Regions from separate parts of the Homo sapiens genome. Here all the other regions are linked to region 3. The links are contacts of gene promoters, found by promoter capture Hi-C in human tissues and cell types (Jung and others, 2019). All regions are on one chromosome and are shown on one strand. The core of a region is centred on a gene start or on the middle of the fragment in contact, and the rest is flanking DNA. Distances in the headings are between cores, read along the strand shown. Region 1 overlaps CTNNA3 (catenin alpha 3). Region 2 overlaps CTNNA3 (catenin alpha 3). Region 3 holds the start of LRRTM3 (leucine rich repeat transmembrane neuronal 3). Region 4 overlaps CTNNA3 (catenin alpha 3).

What was found. The method cuts DNA at HindIII sites, captures the fragments that hold promoters and counts their contacts. A contact is called where the count stands out against the background at its distance.
Region 1: a fragment that was not itself captured here is called in contact with the fragment with the promoter of LRRTM3 in region 3 in 2 of the 25 tissues and cell types used here (hippocampus and mesenchymal stem cells).
Region 2: a contact is called between a fragment that was not itself captured here and the fragment with the promoter of LRRTM3 in region 3, in 1 of the 25 tissues and cell types used here (hippocampus).
Region 4: a contact is called between a fragment that was not itself captured here and the fragment with the promoter of LRRTM3 in region 3, in 1 of the 25 tissues and cell types used here (dorsolateral prefrontal cortex).

The regions. Positions count from the first base shown.
Region 1 is chr10:66,394,951-66,397,944 of GRCh38, forward strand. All of the region lies in intron 11 of CTNNA3 (catenin alpha 3), which reads right to left. Among named protein-coding and RNA genes, the nearest start is that of CTNNA3-AS1, 320 kb to the left of the region's middle. The HindIII fragment of the contact is 3,372 bases long and covers 1-2,994 here.
Region 2 is chr10:67,505,851-67,509,009 of GRCh38, forward strand. The region is part of intron 5 of CTNNA3 (catenin alpha 3); the gene reads right to left. Among named protein-coding and RNA genes, the nearest start is that of MIR7151, 100 kb to the left of the region's middle. The HindIII fragment of the contact is 5,109 bases long and covers 1-3,159 here.
Region 3 is chr10:66,924,709-66,927,806 of GRCh38, forward strand. LRRTM3 (leucine rich repeat transmembrane neuronal 3) reads left to right here and starts at 1,328. Exons shown (of 3, transcript NM_178011.5): 1 at 1,328-1,879; 2 at 2,213-3,098. The coding sequence starts at 1,876. All of the region lies in intron 7 of CTNNA3 (catenin alpha 3), which reads right to left. All of the region lies in intron 3 of LOC101928961 (a long non-coding RNA gene), which reads right to left. RefSeq lists an enhancer at 715-1,571 and a silencer at 1,191-1,300. The HindIII fragment of the contact is 13,899 bases long and covers 1-3,098 here.
Region 4 is chr10:66,209,670-66,212,831 of GRCh38, forward strand. All of the region lies in intron 13 of CTNNA3 (catenin alpha 3), which reads right to left. Among named protein-coding and RNA genes, the nearest start is that of CTNNA3-AS1, 130 kb to the left of the region's middle. The HindIII fragment of the contact is 6,515 bases long and covers 1-3,162 here.

The DNA of each region.
Region 1 (2,994 bases), core at 402-2,901, 530 kb before region 3:
TACAGATAAAATTAAGAATAAATGAGTTGCTGATAACCTGGTAAATTTTACTAAGTTTTTATTTATTTTTTCCCCTCAGAATAATAAGTATATACACAGCTCAATTATCTTTACTACCTTCGAAAATACAGTATCTCTCCACGTGGGAAAAAAAGGCTAACAAAAGAGAAGAAGACTATTAGTAGATATACGTCTTAGGGAAGTTCACTTTCCTAGTCAATGAATTAATTTTAAAGTCAAGTACAGCATTCTTTTGCTGAAATTCATTTTTCTCTTATATTTTGCTCAGAGGTGCACAAAAATTGTCAGAACAGATCCCTCTCTATGAGACAAATTCTCTTCAGCATCATTTGTAATTGCTTCAAGGAAACCATAACTAAAAACTTGAATTTTCCACAGGTATGACAAAGGAGGAGTCCATGAGGTTAAAAGCAAACACAAGGTATGACTTTTTCCATGCCCAAATCGGTATCATTCACAAAATATTCTGTATCACCCTGATTGTTTTTATCATATGTAAATTGCTATAAAACTACATGGAATTGGACAACAAATTACAAAGACTAATAAAAAAATACAAGGCAAAAAGATATGGCTTAAAAGGTACCATGTTTTCAGGAATTCAATGTGGTTCATCTTACCTCAGATTTCCAAAAAGTCTGTACTTATTATTTACCTTTCCATGAAGTTTCTCCATGAACCTGCCACAAAGCTTTCTAGAAGATTCTCTAACAGATCCTAATCATAGCCATTCTGTAACCTCTGAACAAGATCCCAATTTCACCAGCATCAGTAATTGTTCTCTTAAGAGTTCTCTATTTCTTGATACTCTCTGTAATTTTTATTTATTTATTTATATTGTTTCAGATTCAGGGGTTTCATGTGCAGGTTTGTGTAATGGTGAGGTTTGGGCTCCTAGCATACCCATCACCCACGTAGCAAAAATGGTACCCAATAGGTAATTTTTCAATTCTTGCCCCACTCCTACCCTTCCCCCTTCTGGAGTTTGCGTTGTGTGTTATTTCCATCTTCATGTCTACATGTACCCATTGTTTAGTTCCCACTTGTAAGTGAGAACTTGTGGTACTTGATTTTCTGTTTCTCAGTTATTTCACTTAGATTAATGCCCTCCAGCAACATTTATATTGCTGGAAAAATATATGATTTCATTCTTTTTAATGGCTGCATAGTATTCCATGCATATACCATATTTTCTCTATCCAATCAAATAATAGAATACAAAGATATGTATTTATATACTATTAGCTTTCTAATTTAACTCTGAAAGCATATGCAGGAGCCAAAATCTTATTGAACTGAATAAACTATACTTATTTAGATATTAAAAGAGGGATACTAAAATTCCCTTTTAGTTATATTGAACCAGTTTTATCCTAATACATGGAATGTAATCAGGCAAAATAATTAATGATGTAGTTTACTAAACTTAATTTTAAAAAGTATTGAAATAACTTAGTACAATTTTCAAGGATTAAAATGTTAAGAGAGTAATTATATTTTCGCCTCAATTATAAATTGGGCATCCACATGAAAGTGACACCTTAGGCTTCTGACATGTATTAAAACCTTGTAAATGAACTCAGTTTACAGCAGATCTAGAAATGTTTATGAGTAATTTAACCACAGCTTCCCAACAATTCATTGGAATAGTTATTAAGCATTTTAAAGAAATGAGTTTATGGATGGGTAGAGTTAGATCAGGAAATAATAGTTCCCAAATTATCACCCTCAAGCAATTCCATTTCTAGTAAATAGTCCCCAAATTACCATCCTCAAAGAAATTCCATTTCTAATAAAGAAGATGCTTTTCTATGCACACATAAGTTTACAGATTCATGTCAAAATAAAATTTAAACCACAGCTACTGATTGAAGTGAAACAATGATTTTAATTTATAATGCAAACTAACCATTGGTAAACACAAATAATAACTTTATTTAATAGAATATAACAAACCAATATAAGCTTTTCACTTATAAAGTAATTAAATTACATAAAAAGATGCTTATGACATAATTTTAAGTGAAAAAAATCAGGCTATGTATCTATTAAATAGGACCCTCATTTAAAATTCATATATTTATTTCTCTACAATATAGCATATAATTACATACATTTTAAGAAAAATATATGGAAGGAAATTTCCAAACTCCTAATTGTAGTTTTCAATAAATAGTGGCATTATGAGTAGTTTTTATTTTTTAAAGCATTGATATATTTTCCATAAAATAATATTGCATGCAGTAATATACATGCATTACTATTGTAAGATACTATTAAAATTATACTCTATCCTTGATTAGCCATTGTTATTAAACAGAGAACTCTTATAGCTAAGGCTTAGGGAACTAAGCAAACTACCATTTATTAACATTTATATATTGCTGAAGTAAATATAACATTGATACCCACAGATAAAGCTTAACATCCTTAGTTCTTCCAGTATTGTTTTCCTCTCTCTCTTTGCCCACCAAATGATAGTAATTCCAAACTAATATTTTCTATTTAATTAGTACTCATATATATATTCACATGGTATATTCATTCATTCAATATCTCTTTCATTGAATAATGATATATTCATTTTAATGAGTATTTGCAGAGTTCCTACTACAAGGTATTTTGTGAGGTGTAGAGAAATTTCAAGATAAATAACTCACTGTCTTTGCTTTAAAAGAACTCACAGTCTAGTCGTAGAAATAAGCAACTAAAGAAATGACTCCAAGGAACATGATAAATGCCATAATGTACATGGGTAAACAATGCTAGACCATTTATTTTTCCAATGACATACTTACTTTTTCCACATGTGTACATCATTGCATTATGTACCGTGAGTTGTCCCACTGGGATCAGACTGATCACAATGTGTATATCTTGGTCTTTATGAAAATAATTTTTTAAAAGTTTATTGTGTATTTACAAGTTCCTGGGTGATTGTGGGAGTAGGGGTGGGGCAATTTTCCCATCAAA
Region 2 (3,159 bases), core at 48-2,547, 580 kb after region 3:
TATACTAATATGAGCAGAATTTATATAGAGAATTTTAGCCTGTATTAATGCTGTAACTAAAATAGAAAAAAATGATTTAAAATCAGGTTTGTAATAATACAGTTAAAAAAGAAATGCAATATTACAAGTTCATATTGTGGCATCTTGCTAAAATCCCATAAGTGATACTAAAAATGTTAAGCTAAATATAGTTTATCTGGTCAATGAATGCAACTGTCAGTTGACCACAGAAGAGAGAAAAGCAATTTACATTGTAAAAATTTAAAGACATCCAATCTAAAATTTAATGTTGACTCTGAAGAATATCAATTAATTTATATTTTCTGTCATTTGAAACTAGAGTGTATGAAAGTAAACCTGTACATACACATACTCTTCTAAATCATTGAACAAAATATGGAGCAAACCAGCAACACTACTCCATCTTCTGGTGACATTTTCCCTCACCTAGATGTATTTCAGTGTAAGTGTTTCTACTGCTGTCACATTTGGAGCATGAGATAGGGTATAAAAGATGATTAGCTTCTTCCTAAATAGCAAACATGAAATTGTCCAAACATGATAGTTTAGAGAGCAAAAATAAGTACGCCTTAAAAAAAATAACAGAACAAACTAAACTTCTCATTACATATTAAATTAGCCCTCAGGTAATCAGCCCCTAACAAACAGCTTAACATCTACAAAAGGCTGCATGACTGGTGTGTGCCTGTTTAAAGCTCTGCTGTAAGCTGAACTGTTGGTCTCAGCTAGGCATCCTCAACATTTCCTTTGAATTTTAGCCAACAGTGCCCTAGGCATGCTCCTAGCACTACTATTAACAAAACAGCTGTAGTTGAAGCAGTAGTCTTTTTGCCTGACAAGGACACCGTAACAGTCATTGTGATGTCTTCTGATTGTGAACACAGGTAGAGATGTACAGCTTGGATACAAAAATTTAATATGAGTGTATTTGAGATTATAATTTTTACTAGTTGTATAGTAAATATGTGACTAAGCTTGCTTTTCTGAAACAAATGCTGCTGAGTCAATACCAGACAGTCCCATGATCAGTTTGGCCAAGTCACAGTGGACAACCCAGAGCTAAAGTATGACATTTTTACTCTTCTTCAGCTCCCTGTACCTTAGTCTCAGCTGTTCCCATATTCAGTCTCTTTAGCTAGACTAACAAAAAAAGAATGGAGACTCAAATAAAACCAGAAATAAAAGAGGAAACATTAGAAGTGATACCACAGAAATACAAAGAATTAAAAAAGACTCCTGTGAACTATTATATGGCAAGAAATTGGATAACTTAGAAGAAATGGATAAATTCCTAGACACATAAAAACTACCAAGATAAAATCATGAAGAAATGGAAAATCTGAATAGACCAATAATGAGTAAGAAAATTAAATCAAGGCCGGGTGCAGTGGCTCACGCCTGTAATCCCAGCACTTTGGGAGGCCGAGGCAGGTGGATCACGACGTCAGCAGTTCAAGACTAGCCTGGCCAACATGGTGAAGCCCAGTCTCTACTAAAAATACAAAAATTAGCTAGGCATGGTGGCACACGCCTGTAATCCCAGCTACTCAGGAGGCTGAGGCAGGAGAATTGCTTGAACCAGGACCCAGGAGGCAGAGGTTTCAGTGAACTGAGATCATGTCACTGCACTTCCAGCCTGGGCTACAAAGGGAAACTCCATCTCAAAAAAAAAAGGAAAGAAACAAAGAAAAAAAAAAAGAAAATTAAATCAATAATTAAAAAGTCTCATCAAAGGAAAGCCCAGGACCTGATGACTTCACTGCTGAATTCAACTAAAATTTAAAGAACTAATACCAATTCTCAAACTCCTCCAAAAAACTGAAGAGGAAGGAATACTACAAACTCATTTTATGAGGCCAACATTACCTGACACCAAAGCCAGACAAGGAGGCTACAAGAAAAGAAAATTACAGGCCAATATTCCTGATGCACAAACATGCAAAACTCCTCAACAAAATACTAACAAGCTTTAAAAGACCATTCACCATGATCAAGTGGTACACCACATTAACAGAATGGAGAACAAAAATCATATAAACAACTCAATAGATGCAGAGAAAGAATTTAACAAAATTCAACATGCTTTCATGATAAAAACCTCTCAACAAATTAGATATAGAAGGAATGTATTTCCTTTTTTTGTTGTTTGTTTGTTTGTTTGTGATGGAGTCTTGCTCTATCACCCAGGCTGGAGTACAGTGGCGCAATTGTAGCTCATTACAACCTCCACCTCCCAGGTTCAAGCAGTTCTCCTTCCTCATACTCCCGAATAGCTGGGATTACAGGCCCACACCACCACACCTGCTAATTTTTGTATTTTATCAGAAACAGGGTTTTGCCATGTTGGCCAGGCTGGTCTCAGACTCCTGACCTCAAGTGATCCACCCACCTCAGCCTCCCAAAGTGCTGGGATTACAGGTGTGAGCCACCGTGCCTAGCAGAAGGAATGTATTTCAACACAATAAAGGCCGTATTTCACAAGCCCATAGTTAGTGTTATGCTCAATAGTGAAAAGTTGCCAAAAATACACAATGTGGAAAAAATAGTCTCTTCAATAAGTGGGGTTGGGAAAATTGAATATCCACATACCAAAAAACAAATTTATTTTTATCCTACATCACAAACAAAATTTAACTCAAAATGGATTAAAGCTGTAAACATAAGCCCTGAAACCATAAAACTACTATAAGAAAACAAAGGGGAAATGCTCTATGACATTAGTTTTCACAATTTTTTTAAATATGATGCCATAAGTACCAGCAACAAAGGCAAAAATAAATAAGTGAAATTATATCAAACTAAAAAGTTTCTGCACAGAAATGGAAATAATCAACAAAATGAAATAGTAACCTATGGAATGAAATAAAATGTTTGCAGACCATACATCCAATAAGAGGTTAGTATTGAAAATCTATAAGGAAGTCATTTAACTCAAAAGCAAAAAAGAAAAGAAAAGAAATGACCCACAAATAACCTAATTAAAAATGAGCAAAATACCTAAATAGACATTTTTTTTTTTTTGAGACCTAAGTCTCGCTCTTGTACCCCAGGCTGGAGTGCAATGGCATGATCTCAGCTCACTGCAACCTCCGCCTCCTGGGTTCAAGCAATTCTCTTGCCTCAGCCTCCCGTATAGCA
Region 3 (3,098 bases), core at 78-2,577:
ATTATTCAAATATCTTACACAGGCTTATTGCATGCAACACACTGTTCTAAGTAACATACAGATATTAAAATGACTTAATTCTCAAAACATGAAGTGAGTTTTTGTTTTTATGCCCGTTTTGCAGATGAGAAAACTGAGGCATAGGGAAGGTAAGTAACGCGCTTAAGGTTACATAGCTGGTAAATTGTAGCCAGGAGTTGGAATCTAGGTGCCAAAATCTATGCTGTTAATCACTAAACTACGCTGCCTTAGTTTTTATACTTCTTTAGGAACCTCAGACCAAAAGAAATTTAGGCAATTCTAATAGAACAAGCAAGAATTTGCTAATCACAGCTTCCTTGCCCCAATCCTTTAATCGGCTTCATTTTCACTGACTTCTTTTTTAAATGAAGATAACAATGTTGTTGAACAGGATCATCTAGTGGTTAGTGGTTCGGCATAAGAATGACTCGCTTCTGAAGCTCAGCTCTAGCACTCGCTTGCTGTATGACCTTGAGAAAGTTACCTCCCCAAGTCTGTTTCCTCATCTTTAAAAGAGAGGTTATAATAGGACCCACATCATACTATTGTTTAAAGAGAAAACAACGTAGCCCATTTAAAGCACTTAGAAAGTGCTCCATAAATATTATTAGTGTAATAAATAGCAGCAACATCAATAAAGTATGAACCAAATGATCTCTTGATTCGTATCCTAACACTAAAAATGGTTTATTTCCCTTCTAATTAAAAGAGAATTACAACAACCAAAACAACAAACGAAACTATAGCCATAAAATCAATTATATCGTCTGTGAGAAAACCGGAAAGGCTATTGGACACATTAATTCACTTGTCATCAGTCATCCCCTCTATTCCAAAATGTTTGTGTTCTAACATCCTGAGACACCTTGCATAATATAATCACTGTGACTCCAAGAGGTCAAATGGGCAGGCAGTTAATGCTTCTCTGTGAAAAGCTCAATAATTCATTTTATAAATTTCAGTTTAAAGCCTGCGTTGAGGTTAAGAAAAATTGACGTTCGGTCTGTGAACTTAATGTCAAGCTCCAGAAAAACTCTGGGCAGCACATGTTTAGCAATTAAGTGGACACAGACAATAAAGACGTTGCCAAATTGTAAAACAAGACTTGGAAATCACAGAAAATGTTGCTAGTTATTGATCACGGTGACCATTCAGTTCCTACTGAGCCACCCAAAAGAATCATTCATTTTCCAGCAGAGAGCCTGCTCATTTGCAAGATAAAAGAGAGACATTTCTGCACATGCCCATAATGTTCTTCACCACTGGGGGCAGCTTTACATAAGACTGCATTCACTGAAACCAAAGCAACAGTCCGAGCAGCTTTCAGAATGACAGTCTGCAGAAGTGAGCTGAGCGTGTGCGCGGTACGGGGCTCTCCTGCCTTCTGGGCTCCAACGCAGCTCTGTGGCTGAACTGGGTGCTCATCACGGGAACTGCTGGGGTATGGAATACAGATGTGGCAGCTCAGGTAGCCCCAAATTGCCTGGAAGAATACATCATGTTTTTCGATAAGAAGAAATTGTAGGATCCAGTTTTTTTTTTAACCGCCCCCTCCCCACCCCCCAAAAAACTGTAAAGATGCAAAAACGTAATATCCATGAAGATCCTATTACCTAGGAAGATTTTGATGTTTTGCTGCGAATGCGGTGTTGGGATTTATTTGTTCTTGGAGTGTTCTGCGTGGCTGGCAAAGAATAATGTTCCAAAATCGGTCCATCTCCCAAGGGGTCCAATTTTTCTTCCTGGGTGTCAGCGAGCCCTGACTCACTACAGTGCAGCTGACAGGGGCTGTCATGCAACTGGCCCCTAAGCCAAAGCAAAAGACCTAAGGACGACCTTTGAACAATACAAAGGATGGGTATGTTTTGTCATTTTTCTTCTTTCCTTCTTAAAAACAAAAAACAAAAAACCTCTAGTGTGTGTAATAATTCTGCCTTAATTATTTTAGAGATTACCTTGCTCTGCTCTAAGACTATGAATTTATTTGCTTAGTGGCATGTTTCCTTGTTTAACTATTTAAAAAAACAAAACACTAAAGACAATTCTCTTTAATTACAAAGAGATAATATGTGATGTTAAGTGTTATTTAGATTTAAATTTTTAAAAATGAAAAATATATGCCTATTTTTGCTTGATTAAGGATTAATTCTTTTTTGGGGGGATAACTTTTCTAAGTTGTTTTTATTTCCAGGTTTCAATGTAATTAGGCTACTGAGCGGATCAGCTGTAGCACTGGTTATAGCCCCCACTGTCTTACTGACAATGCTTTCTTCTGCCGAACGAGGATGCCCTAAGGGCTGTAGGTGTGAAGGCAAAATGGTATATTGTGAATCTCAGAAATTACAGGAGATACCCTCAAGTATATCTGCTGGTTGCTTAGGTTTGTCCCTTCGCTATAACAGCCTTCAAAAACTTAAGTATAATCAATTTAAAGGGCTCAACCAGCTCACCTGGCTATACCTTGACCATAACCATATCAGCAATATTGACGAAAATGCTTTTAATGGAATACGCAGACTCAAAGAGCTGATTCTTAGTTCCAATAGAATCTCCTATTTTCTTAACAATACCTTCAGACCTGTGACAAATTTACGGAACTTGGATCTGTCCTATAATCAGCTGCATTCTCTGGGATCTGAACAGTTTCGGGGCTTGCGGAAGCTGCTGAGTTTACATTTACGGTCTAACTCCCTGAGAACCATCCCTGTGCGAATATTCCAAGACTGCCGCAACCTGGAACTTTTGGACCTGGGATATAACCGGATCCGAAGTTTAGCCAGGAATGTCTTTGCTGGCATGATCAGACTCAAAGAACTTCACCTGGAGCACAATCAATTTTCCAAGCTCAACCTGGCCCTTTTTCCAAGGTTGGTCAGCCTTCAGAACCTTTACTTGCAGTGGAATAAAATCAGTGTCATAGGACAGACCATGTCCTGGACCTGGAGCTCCTTACAAAGGCTTGATTTATCAGGCAATGAGATCGAAGCTTTCAGTGGACCCAGTGTTTTCCAGTGTGTCCCGAATCTGCAGCGCCTCAACCTGGATTCCAACAAGCTCACATTTATTGGTCAAGAGAT
Region 4 (3,162 bases), core at 558-3,057, 710 kb before region 3:
AAAAATAGAGGAGTCAGGGATAAGCCAATTTTTTCATATTGCCATATTTTATAGTAATAAGCTAGTTTCTGCTTATAAAGAAATCTGGGACATAGGACAGTAAACCATGTGTCCTCCGGAAAACTTTAGCATGTGTTTCTCACATTAGGTTAAAACATGTATGTGTAGTAGCTCGTATTTATGCCTTTCCTATAGTGTTTAACATAAACATTTAAGTCTATCCTACAAGCAACTTATATGCAAAAGTAAGAGAGACAGAGATAGAGGCAGAGACAGAGAGAGCACTAAGAAGAAATGTAGTGGCTAAGAAGGCTTTACTCTGACTTGGTGCTCCCTTCTGGCTCTCGGATCTTAAAATCACAGTAAATATATTGCTGAACAATGAATGATAAGAAAATGCATCGAACACACATAATACCCAGGGTGGGTTAATTTTTAATTGACCATTTAAAATAACAATATTGCACAAACCAGCTGGAGTAAAATAAGGGTAAGTATGATAAGGAATCTTTAGGCATTAAAAATAAACTGTATCATATATGGGAAGAAATGGCTTAGGTATGCCAAGAAGCAGGACCTCAACACACAGCTGATATGGGGAAAAAATGGCAATGATAGTGGAACCACTTCCTATAATTTACTAAGGCAAACGAGATAACAAAAGCATCTGATTTAGAGTCTTTGCTTACTCTAAATAATTGCACATCAATTGAGTCCAGGGTTCTTGCATTGAGAAATAAGGGAGTACTACTTTTTAATCCTGACAGGAAAATTAAAAGGCCCAAGTTATTACATAATGTAAATAATGTATTAGAGTTAGCAATGAGAAAGACTTCCTTTATAGCAAGGCTTATTTCATAATTCCAGGGTAAATCTATTGTTTCGATAAGATTTTTTTTCAATTGATACATAAATAAATGTATACATTTAGGTACACTCTTACTTTTACAGAAATTTAAATTTATGTTAACGTACCACTTAAAATTGCATTAAATAAAATAGCATAATATGTGTTTTTGTAATGTAAGAAAGATATCAGTGTATGCTAAAATATATAAAATCCGATGCTAAGCAAATGGAGTAAACAACAAAAAACAACATAGCCATATAAAGTTTACAAAATAATTCACATGTAGTTTACAATTGTGTTTAGAACGTGATCTACTGAAAATGATAGAATTATTTATAGCATCTCTTTGGGGCCTAGGCCACCTTGTACATATAGAAAGCCACAGTTCTTGGGTGGCTGACATACTCTGAAATGTTCTCAGATTTTAAATTGTAGAAACAACACTTCCCATAAACAGAGAGCTCTCTGGGGGCATCTATAGGACTAAGTGGTAATTCTCAGGGAAGCAACGTTTTGGGAACATTCCATCATACTGTACCATTAATGAATTGCCTGATTTATGACCAATGTAAATTTGGAGCTAGCTACCTTCCCAGAATGCTTCCAAACGGCAGCACAGTTGCAACAGTAACACCATCAACACAGGAAAAGACAGCAGCCTGAGGAATTCACAAATGGACATTTTGGCCAAGGCGTGAACATATAATGGATGCAGAGTTCCAAAGGAGGTGCTAGACTTCAAGCAGCACATAAAAACTGAAATACTACATATGAGTAATGTTACACTTCAACCTTTGTCACACAAAAGCTCTAAAGGGCTCCAGATATGGGGACAGCAGATATGGGCAGCATCCTTGAAGCAATTATTTTAGAGAGAGCTCTGCTGTGAGTATAACAAAAAAGGAAGACTGGGAAGCAGTTCCCTAACCCTGAACTAAGATTTCTCTGCAAGTACAAAAAAAGCTTGAATGAGCTACCTGCAGTTGGGGGATGCTTTGGCCTGGAGCCTAATTCACATCTGAAAAAGCTAAAGAGGCCAGTGAGTACCGAGTACAAGCCTGTGTTTGAGTTTAAAAGCAACCCCTTCACCTAGATATTGAAAGGGGATGAATTCCAGAAGCCAACCCTAATATCTGCAGTAGAATCTTCAGTGTGGAGCCATTTAAAAACAGGCTGGCCCAAGAGGGCAACATGCCCGGATAAGAGTTCCTGGTAGTAAGAGGTGGAGTTTACTGTGGGAGTCCACGATGATGGGGAACACCAAACACCAGCCAATTCCACAACAGAGTTGCAATCGGAGGGACCCAACAGGCAAGTTTTTCTTCAAAAATCCTTCTCTCATGTCTACTGTCCCTCTCTATGGATGTGATTATGTGGTTCAAGAATTGTTGAACCAATTTCAGATTATAACTTTTGTGCATGTCTAACATTTCCTTTGCAGTCATAGCAACTATTGTTTTTGGGTTTTTTTTTTTTTTTTTTTTTTTTGAGACAGAGTCTCACTCTTTTCTCCAGACTGGAATGCAGTGGCGCGATCTCAGCTCGTTGCAACCTCTGCATCCCAAGTTCAGGCAATTCTCCTGTCTCAGCCTCCTGAGTAGCTAGGGTTGTAGGCACCCGCCACCACGCCTGGCTAATTTTTGTATTTTTAGTACAGACGGGGTTTCACCATATTGGTCAGGCTGATCTCAAACTCCTGACCTTACGTGATCCACCCACCTCGGCCTCCCAAAGTGCTGGGTTTACAGGCTTGAGCCAATGCGCCCAGCCAGCAACTATTGTTTCTTAATGCCTCAGCCTAATAATACTTATAGTAATCTGTTATACATGTGTGCTTTAAGGATTTTAAAACCTCTCCATTTCTTAGCCAGAACCTAAATATTCAGGTTACTTTGCTGTTGTTAATTTTTTAAACATTTCTTATTAGCATCCCTAGAAGTTTTATTTCTATTTTAACTTTCTTATTATTTTGGCTAATAAATATAATTACTTTTATATTTCGGAGTTGTGTTTCTGCTTAATCTTTTTTTTGATGCTTTTGAAGAGGGTGCAACAAAGTAATTGAGGGCAAATGCTTTCAGTAGTGTGCTGTTGTAAAAGATTTTTAATTTAGTATTTGAATTATGTATTAATATCATTTCAGTGTAGCTTTCTTTCAGGAAAATATTAAGAGATAGCTAAAAATAAGAAATGTCCTTTTTTGGGCAAGCATGGTGGCTCACACCTATAATCCCAGCACTTTGGGAGGCCAAGGTGGGCAGATTACTTGAGGCCAGGAGTTTGAGACCAGCCTGGCCAACATGGCGAAACCC